2 separate regions of the Homo sapiens genome follow, and region 1 is linked to region 2. The links are contacts of gene promoters, found by promoter capture Hi-C in human tissues and cell types (Jung and others, 2019). All regions are on one chromosome and are shown on one strand. Each heading gives the region's core, a stretch centred on a gene start or on the middle of the fragment in contact. The rest is flanking DNA. Distances are from core to core; before and after follow the strand shown. Region 1 has its middle 23 kb from the start of ITM2C. Region 2 holds the start of C2orf72 (chromosome 2 open reading frame 72).

Region 1 (4,377 bases), core at 1,611-4,110, 200 kb before region 2:
CTAAACATTCAGAACAAGTTGAGTTGACAGCTGGCATTGCAAGAAACATTCAGTCTTTAGAAGATGCACCAAAATATATCCGATATCAAGTATCTGCAACCAAAACAGCCTTCAAAATACATCAAAGGAAACAGAGTACCTTTAGACAGCATGAAGCATGACCTGGATGACCATGGTGGTATTCAGGGGTGTGTGAGGCTGCTTTCGCAAGAAACCAGAGAAGGAAGAGTGAGTGAGCATATTAAGCAGAATGAAATATAGAAAACTCTGAAGGAGATCAGATCAAGCCTCTAGGTGACCACTTGCTTAAAGAGGAGTGATTGGGCGGCCTTCCTGGGAGAAGGCAGCATGGATGGTGGGAGCTCAGAACTGGGTAGAACAACTGCATTCGAAAACCAGCGGCTCCTAGATTATTCAAAAGGAGTTTGAAGAAGTGAATGCAACTCAAAGAATTCTTATAAAACACTTTATTTATTTATTTATTTATTTTTGTTTATTTATTTATTTATTTTTTTGAGACAGGGTTGCCCAGGCTGCAGTGCAGTGCCACAGACATGACTCACTGAAGCCTGGACCTCCTGGGCTCGAGCAATCCTCCCACCTCAGCCTCCCAAGTAGCTGGGACTACAGGTGCACACCACCACACCCGGCTAATTTTGTGTTTTTTGTAGAGACAGGGTCTTTTTAGCTTGCCCATGCTGGTCTCCAACTCCTGGGCTCAAGTAATCCACTCGCCTCAGCCTCCCAAAGTGTTGGGATTACAGCAATGAGCCACTGAGCCCAGCTAAAACACCTTAAAAGAAATCAAATGTACACTAAATTAGCTGAAGGAGATGAAATGATCGATGCCCTCATATTTAAAATCTACAAACTGAGACAGCCTCACTGAAGTCAGACAAACACAGAAAGGGGAGGTAACAGCTCCAGCAAAAGGAGAGGTAACAGCTCCAGCAGGAACTCCAAGTCCTTCCTGAATTGCATCAAGAAAAAGAAATCAGTGTGCATCAAATAGCCAATTTAGAGAGAATTTGCCCTTTAATAATAGAGGAGACTATTTCCGAAGCAGATGGCAAGATCAAGCATGCTGGAGACTTATAAAGTACAAGCCCAAATTCTGTCAGAAAAATGCAGAAGGATCATAAGCTGTTACTCAAGCTAGCCTATTTCCTGTAAGAGAAAAAACCCACGATAATAGGCTGAGAGCTCTGTTGGCTGGAAAAAAAAAAAAAAAAAACCTTAGAAACTTAAGAAAAATTGTACTTTAGTAAAAATTATTGGAGAAGAATGTTAATGCTTTTAAGAGTATGCCTGCAACCCTGATGTTCCAAATGGGTATTTGGCCAAGGCCAAGAGAACCACCAAGCAGGGCTGCCACATTAAACACAGGACAGCCAGCTAAATTTGACAGACTCATACTACACAAATTATCATTATTTTATTCTTTGAGACAGGGTCTCATTCTGTCACCCAGGCCGGAGTGCTGTGGTGCGATCACAGCTCACTGCAGCCTCAACTTCCTGGGCTCAAGCCATCCTCCTGCCTCAGCCTCCTGAGTAGCTGGGACTACAGGCGGGCACCACCACGCTCAGCTAATTTTTAAATTTTTTTTGTAGAGATGGGGTCTCGCTTTGTGGTACAGGCTGGTGTTGAACTCCTGGGCTCAAGCGATCCTCCTGCCTTAGCCTCCCAAAGTGCTGGGGTTACAGGTGTGAGCCACTGCACTGGGCTATTTCTGATCTTTATTGAAAAAAAATCTAACTATCTTTTAAAGCTGTCTTTAAACACTTATTTATCCATATTTGGATTTTAGTTATCTCTGCCCAACTTTCATTCTTTCTTTCTGTCTTTTTTTTTTTTTTTGAGAGGGAGTTTCACTCTTGTTGCCCAGGCTGGAGTGCAATGGAAGGATCTCAGCTCACCACAACCTCCGCCACTCAGATTCAAGCGATTCTTCTGCCTCAGCCTCCCGAGTAGTTGGGATTACAGGCATGCGCCACCACGCCCAGCTAAATATATACATAATTTTTTTTTTTTTTTTTTAGTACAGCTGGGGTTTCTCCATGTTGGTCAGGCTGGTCTCGAACTCCCGACTTCAGGTGATCCACCCGCCTCGGCCTCCCAAAGTGCTGGGATTACAGGCATGAGCCACTGCATCCAGCCATCTCTGCCCAACTTTCTACCTCCCTTCATCCTAATTGTCCTCCACAGCTCCTTTCCCACAGTCCTCGCCTGCACAGTAAGAGCTCCAGGCTATGCATCCAGACAGACTGATCTACTAAATGTGTGACCTCAAGCAAGTACCTTAACCGTGTGTGTGTGTGTGTGTGTGTGTGTGTGTGTGTGTTTGAGACACCGTATCACTCTGTCACCCAGGCTAGAGTGCAGTGGCGTGATCTCAGCTCAACACAACCTCTACCTCCTGGATTCAAGTGATTCTCATGCCTCAGCCTCCCAAGTAGCTGGGACTACAGGTGCACACCACCATGCCCCGCTAATTTTTGTATTTTTAGTAGAGATGGGGTTTCGCCATGTTGGCCAGGCTGGTCTCAAACTCCTGACCTCAGGTGATCCACCTGCCTTGGCCTCCCAAAGTACTGGGATTATAGGTGTGAGCCAATTTGCCCAGCCACCTTAACCTTTTGTATGTCAGTTTCCTTGTCTGTAAAACCAGGATAAAAGTGGTACCTTTACATAAGGGATATGTTCAAATTAAGAGAAATAATATGTCAAACACTTGGAAGTATTTTTATACTTGCTGTATAAAACTTGCTGTATATAACTGTTTTATTCAACTGAATTTAGTAAGCACTAAAGATGATAAAGCACAATAACCTACTATTAGCAGTTACTGAACAACTGTTTCTTGAGTTAGGCATTGTAACAACCACTGGGTGTATGAAGATAATGAAGACAAAGTTGCTGTCACTGGGGTCTCTACATGCAGAAAGGAAGATGAGAAAACAATAAGCAATGGGATGGAATGGAACATCATATCATAAAGTAAGAGTTCATCAGCAACTGCTCTCCCCAGGGCCCAGTAAGGGACCCCTGACCCAGTCATTCATGAAGAGAAGGAGGCCATTACGGCAGAAGTAACAGAGGAAAGACAGGCTCAATTTTCCAACAAGCCAGATGCCCATAGAACTGAAGCTTGAGAAACTTCCATTTGTACAGTGAGTCACACCTGCTGCCTGTTGACCAGCTCCTCTTCTTCACCCCTCCCTAACTCCTGTTCTCCTGCACGTGGTTATGAGACAGACGCTAGACCCCTCATCTGACCACCTGCTGAGCAACTCTTCTTCCTTGCCCCACCTGTTTTCCTTCCCCTGCTATAATCTAAACCCCTAACTTTAGTTGGCGAGAGAAAGACATATTTGAGGCTTGCCTCCCATCTCTCCAGCTGACGTCACCTGTAATAAAGCCATTTTCCTTGGCAATACTCACTGTCTCAGCGACTGGCTTTCTGTGTGGCAAGCAGCGGGACCTAGGCTGAACCCCTAGCAATCAGTAACAGGCATTGCTGTTTTAAAGGCTCCAAGTCACTAAAGGAGATGAGGTTGAGAATATAGACAGCAGAACAGACAAATCATTAAAGATGCTGATGGTAGACAGTACAGATTCTGGAGGTGGCCTGCTTGGGTTCAAATCCTTGTTCTACCGCTTAGCAGCTTGGTGACTTTGCGAAAATTAAATGCCTCAGTTTCCAGGTCTATAAAATGGGGACAATAGTAATGGTAGTAATAACTACCTCATAGAGATGGGAGAAATTAAGTAATGGACATAAAGTGCTTAGCACTATGCCTGTATTGAAAGTAGTAAATGCTCAATACATGTTAGCGGCTGCTGCTTTTAATATAGATCTAGATCTCTATCTTCCAAGATGACATAGGTATAGATATATGAATAACTATAGATACCTCAGGGGAACCGCCTTCCTCACCATGTCCGCCCAGTTTTATGCTGGGAAACCGAATCATCTTAAGTCATTTCCTGGTAGACTTTGTTCACAACAGTTCTGTCCTAGCTGCTGAGAGGAAAGCATGAGTAGATTTTCTGTGCCTACCCTGTTCCCACCCACTAATTATTCTGGACTCCTCAACCCTCCTTTCCAGATACCTGTCCCTGTCCAATCTCCTAAGTAACCAAGTCAATTAATATATAAAGGTTTAGCACTGAAGAACTGCCAGGAGCAGAGGGTCCCTGGTGGCTAAGCAGACTGTATTCTACCTCCCAGGTTTCTTCCTCCTTCCCTTGGAGGGTCTCTAGTTTCTATTGTGTAGGGGTGGGTTGCCCCTCCACACCTGTGGGTGTTTCTCGTAAGGTGGAACGAGAGACTTAGGAAAGAAAAAGACACAGACAAAGTATAGAGAAAGAAAT
Region 2 (4,956 bases), core at 2,448-4,947:
CCAACACTTTCTGGTCACTTTTTTTTTTTTTTTTTTTTTTTTGAGACAAGTCCTTGATCTCTCACCCAGGCTGGAGTGCAGTGGCACAATCACGGCTCACTGCAGCCTCGACCTCTCGGGCTCAAGCCATCCACCCACCCCAACCTCCCAAGGAGTAACTGTGACTAGATACACACTGCCATACCCAACTAGCTGTTTGATTTTTGTTTGTTTGTTTATTTAGGGATGGGGTCTCGCTATGATGCCCAGGCTGGTCTAAAACTCCTGGGCTCAAGAAATCCTTCCACCTCAGTTTCCCAAAGTACCGGGATTACAGGTGTGAGCCACCACACCAGTCTCTTATCACTTGATTCCCACCAAATTCTGTTTAAATGAACATGAAGAGGTAAAGTATTTCAAAAATCCCAGTTTACTTTATATCTTCATTGAACACCAGAGAAAGAAGAAGTCCATTAATTTTATGATGTTTTTCTAAGGTGCGGTGGGAGAGGAGGAAGAAATATTCTTGGCATCTTGCCTTTTTTTAAAAAAAAAAAAAAGATCTTTGCAGTTTCCTGTTAATTTAATACCAGAACCTTTGCTGTGTAAATAACACAGATAAAGATAAACTTTACTGGCCCTGGACTCCAACCTTCGTTTAACATTCCACCCCCCTCTGATCCATCCCGCATCCCGCCTATGGAAATTTGTAATTAGTTGTGGAGATTTAGAGGCTGAGAATATATAGTTCAGGAGGCAGAGCATGTTGGTTTTAGACAAGCCTTGTAAGAATGTGCTAAAAATCCCAGTATACCTGACAGTGCTTCTCTAGAACTTGTCTTTCTCTCTTCCTCAGAGGTGACCTGGATGGGGTTAATTCCCTTTCTGGTCAACTTGTAGGTTTCACCCTGGCTCTGCCACCCACCCTCCCAGTTTATTATACCCACTTAGGCTGTGCTTTGCTGGCATGGCCTTGCACTGTTATTTAGACAAGTGATTTAATCCCTCTTACTTGCTATTATTGAGCACTCTTAGTTCCTCTTTTTTTTTTTTTTTTTTTAAGATAGTCTCACTCTGTCACCCAGGCTGGAGTACACTGGTATAATCTTGGCTCACCGCAACCTCCGTCTCCTGGGTTCAAGCGAGTCTCCTGCCTCAGCCTCCCAAGTAGCTGGGATTACAGGCACACACCACCATGCCCAGCTAATTTTTGTATTTTTATTGGAGACGGGGTTTCACCATTTTGGCCAGGCTGGTCTTGAACTCCTGACTTCAGATGATCTGCCAGCCTCAGTCTACAAAGTGCTGGGGTAACAGGAGTGAGCCACCATGCCCAGCCAGATTTAGTTCCCTTTTTGATAGGGCACTTCCTCCAATAGTGTTTTCAAAGAGGGGCTATATGTGATACGCCTTCTGATTCTTTATATACCTGATAATTTAGCTAGAAATCCAAATCTAGGGTCAAAGTTATTTTTCTTTGATACTTTAAAACAATTTTTCCATTTTTTCTTAAACCCAATGTTGTTGCTAAGAAATCTGAAGTCAACCAGATTTTTGTTCCTTCCTCAGTCCTTCTACTACCCAGCTTCTGGGAATACAGGTGTGATGGCCCAAGCTTTAGCAGCCAATTTGGATTATGAAGATGTCAGAGGGCAATAGTGACTTGGTATGAAATCTGAGTCTTCAAACACCTAGTAAAGCAGAACTATTATACTATTTCAGCCATAAACTGTCCATCCCCAAACGTCTACAAAAGAGAAAAAGAAATTTTCATTGTTATTAGTGTTGTCTGTGTTATTAAGAAATGAATCTTAATTCATATATCCATTAAACCTGCTTTGTTTTATACTTTCCAGAAGCCTAACTGTTTTTTATTTTTTATTTTATTTTATTCATTTATTTATTTTTTGAGACAGAGTTTCGCTCTTGATGCCCAGGCTGGAGTGCAATGGCACGATCTCAGCTCACCAAAACCTCCACCTCCTGGGTTCAAGCCATTCTCCTGCCTTAGCCTCCCAAGTAGCTGGGACTACAGGCATGCACCACCATGCCTGGCTAATTTTGTATTTTTAGTAGAGACTGGGTTTCTCCATGTTGGTCAGGCTGGCCTCCAATCCCCGACCTCAGGTGATCCACCTGCCTTGGCCTCCCAAAGTGCTGGGATTACAGACACAAGCCACAGCGCCCGGCCCCAGAAGTCTAATTATTTTTCCCAGTGAATTCATGTTTCCCTAGATATCAGCTACTTTGGTTGGCGATAGGTACACCTGGAAGAGACTAAAACCTAGGCTCTTCCTATATATCCCACCTGGGAGCTTAAGGAATGGGGGTGTGATGGGACTTGCCTCTGGCATCAAATGTGAATGTAGCCACTCCCCATGTGCCACCCTCACACACACCAGACACCCCACTCAGGGAGCTTCTGGGCACTCTCCCCTGGCCAATCCTCTTTCATGAGGCAGGTCTCGTGGTTGGAATTCCTGACCCATGAAGTGGGAAGAAGAGGCTGCCGGGTCTGGTTTTTCTGTGCTGCTAGCCCCAGCCTGATATGCCATCCCTGGCTAGCACAGCTGTTTTCTGCCTCCCAGCAGTGCTGGGGAGATGGGGTTGAGAAATGGTCTACTCAGGCCAATGCAAGCAAAGAAAAGAGCACAAGTGTATAGCGTTCACTCAGCCTATCCCCCTTCTATGGCACTGAGGGGAGGAGGCGACAGGCCTTCCCTGGTTTTACATTGGTTTCTCAGAGTCCTTACCAACTCCCCTCTTGCTTCTGCGGCGTCTTTAGGGTACTATTCAGAGAAAGGTGCCAGCCCTTTAAGTACATTATCATCTTGTCACTTTCTGCTTTAATTTTACATTTCATTACAAATTACGTGAAATGTAATACTCAGTTCTTCAGTTGCACTCGCCAGATTTCAGGTACTCAATAATAGTCACATATGGTGCAGACAATAAAAAAGTTTTCCATCATCACAGAATGTTCTATTGGACAAGGCTGACCTAGATCCTTAGAAGGAAGGGAAATGCATTCCTGCTTCTGACCTGGCTGGCCCCTTGCTCCCCACGCAGATCAGAGCACCATCCGTGTCCTGCATCTGGCCCCCTAGACTTTCTGCTTTACGGAAACAGTCTGGGTTTCAACCCCAGCGCCTGGGGTGGTACAATAAGTATTTGTGGAAATAATGGACCCTCGGTCAGTTTTTGCTAAATGTTGAAGCCCAAAAGGAAAGCTGGGTGGCAGAAATAACCCCTGCGTGTTCTCTTTTATCTCACCTTCCTACCCACTTCTGCGCCCTCCGCCCCCTACCCCCCTACCTCCCACCCCACCTCGGCAAGACCCCAAACTGTGCAGGACTCTGCTCCAGGTCTCCAAACGATCTTATCTAGTGAGGGGATAATTGTCTGTCTTCCCAACCTCGGCTGCCCAGCGCCTGCACATAGTAGGTGCGCAGTAAGTATGTGTGGGATGGACGAACAAATGAATGAATGAATGACTCTCTGTTTCCCCGCGTCTGCGCAGGGACTTCGGGAGGAGCCACCCTTGGAGGGCTGAGGAGAAAGCCCTCTTCCTCCCACCCGGGCCCGCGATGCGGGCTGCGCCCAGGGGCGCGTGCACACAGAGGCCCCGCCCGGGGGCCCGGGGGTCCGGCTGGGCTCGGCCCTCGGGGGCGTGTCCTCTGTGCCGGGGCGCCACCGCCCCGAGAGGCGGGCAGCGGGTGCGCCCGGGCCGCGGCGGCCGCAGAGGGCGGGCGGCGGCCAGCATGGAGCGCGAGCTGGAGGCGCTGGCGGCCCGGCTTGCGCGCCCTGCCGAGCCGCCCTTCCAGGCGTTGGTGGAAGCGGCGGGGGGCCGCGGGCAGGTGCTGCTGGTGGGCGAGCTGTGGGAGCGCGAACAGAGCCGCGCGCTGCTGCGGGACTTCGCACGGGCGGTGTTCCCGCCGGAGCCAGGCGCGGCCAAGCCGGGCGGCGCGGCGGCAGAGGGCGCGGGGCCCGGGGCGGCGCGCGGGGCGCAGAGGGCGGCGAGGGCGGCTGGGGCGGCGGGGGCGGCGGCGGCGGCGGCGCGCGCCATCCGCTCGCCGCTGGTCTTCGTGCTGTGCCGCGCGTCGTCGCTGGCCGCCCGGGAGCCGCGGCGCCGCCTGCGGGAGATGCTGCGGGACGTGCGCGGCCGGCGGCGGGCCGGGGCGGCGCTGGTCGGGGTGCTGGTGGCCGAGGCCGGGCCAGAGGACGCGGTGGCGCCGGGGCTGCGGCTGCTGGAGGCGCTGTTGCGCGCCGTGTTCGGCCGCCAGGCGGGGGGGCCCGTGCAGGCGGCCGCCTACTGCCCCGGCCTCCCGGCCTCCTGCCTGGCCGTCCAGGCGGCCGCCTGCAGGGCCCTGCAAGCCGCCGGAGCCGGGCAACCAGGTGAGACTGCGCGGGGCCCGGCTGGGCGCGGGCGGGCGGTGGCTCGGGCACGTCCCCCAAGTTGGACCCCTTTGGCCATTCCCTTATTGAGCACCGAGGTAAACTGAGGCTCAGAGCAGGGAGGTGCCTAGAGCCAGGCCTCGCAGCTAGCGGAGAGCGGGCCGTGCGTAGCGGATCGAGTCTGTCCCGGAAGGGTCCGGAGTGCACGGGAGATGCCTAGGGGGCGTGGGAAAGCTGAGGGGCCGAGTAGAAGGCAGAGGGAGTGGGTAGAGAGAAGGGATGAATCGGGCAAGGCCGAGATCTAGGAGTTACGGGGTGGGTGGGGGTGGGGAGAGAAGAGGAGTGGGGAAGGAAATGGGAAAGCCTTGGGATGGGAAAGTTTCAAGGGGGTGGATGGGTGCTAAGGAGATTGGCGGTGCCAGAAGCTAAATTCTAGGGCGCTGCGCAGCCAGAGATGCGTCGGGAGCTCTAGGAGGGGCGGAGGGGCATCTCCAGCGCGGTGGAGGCTCGTCCTGGAAGCCCTGCCTGGTTTTAGGAAGAGGGCAAGGAATGGGTGCTCGGGACTTGACGTGTGGGGAGGTG

The links. The method cuts DNA at HindIII sites, captures the fragments that hold promoters and counts their contacts. A contact is called where the count stands out against the background at its distance.
Region 1: a contact is called between a fragment that was not itself captured here and the fragment with the promoter of C2orf72 in region 2, in 2 of the 25 tissues and cell types used here (lymphoblastoid cells and mesendoderm cells).

What each region holds. Positions count from the first base shown.
Region 1 is chr2:230,839,364-230,843,740 of GRCh38, forward strand. No RefSeq gene overlaps it. Among named protein-coding and RNA genes, the nearest start is that of ITM2C, 23 kb to the right of the region's middle. RefSeq lists an enhancer at 4,313-4,377. The HindIII fragment of the contact is 4,352 bases long and covers 685-4,377 here.
Region 2 is chr2:231,033,826-231,038,781 of GRCh38, forward strand. C2orf72 (chromosome 2 open reading frame 72) reads left to right here and starts at 3,698. Exons shown (of 3, transcript NM_001144994.2): 1 at 3,698-4,374. The coding sequence starts at 3,741. The HindIII fragment of the contact is 15,599 bases long and covers 1-4,956 here.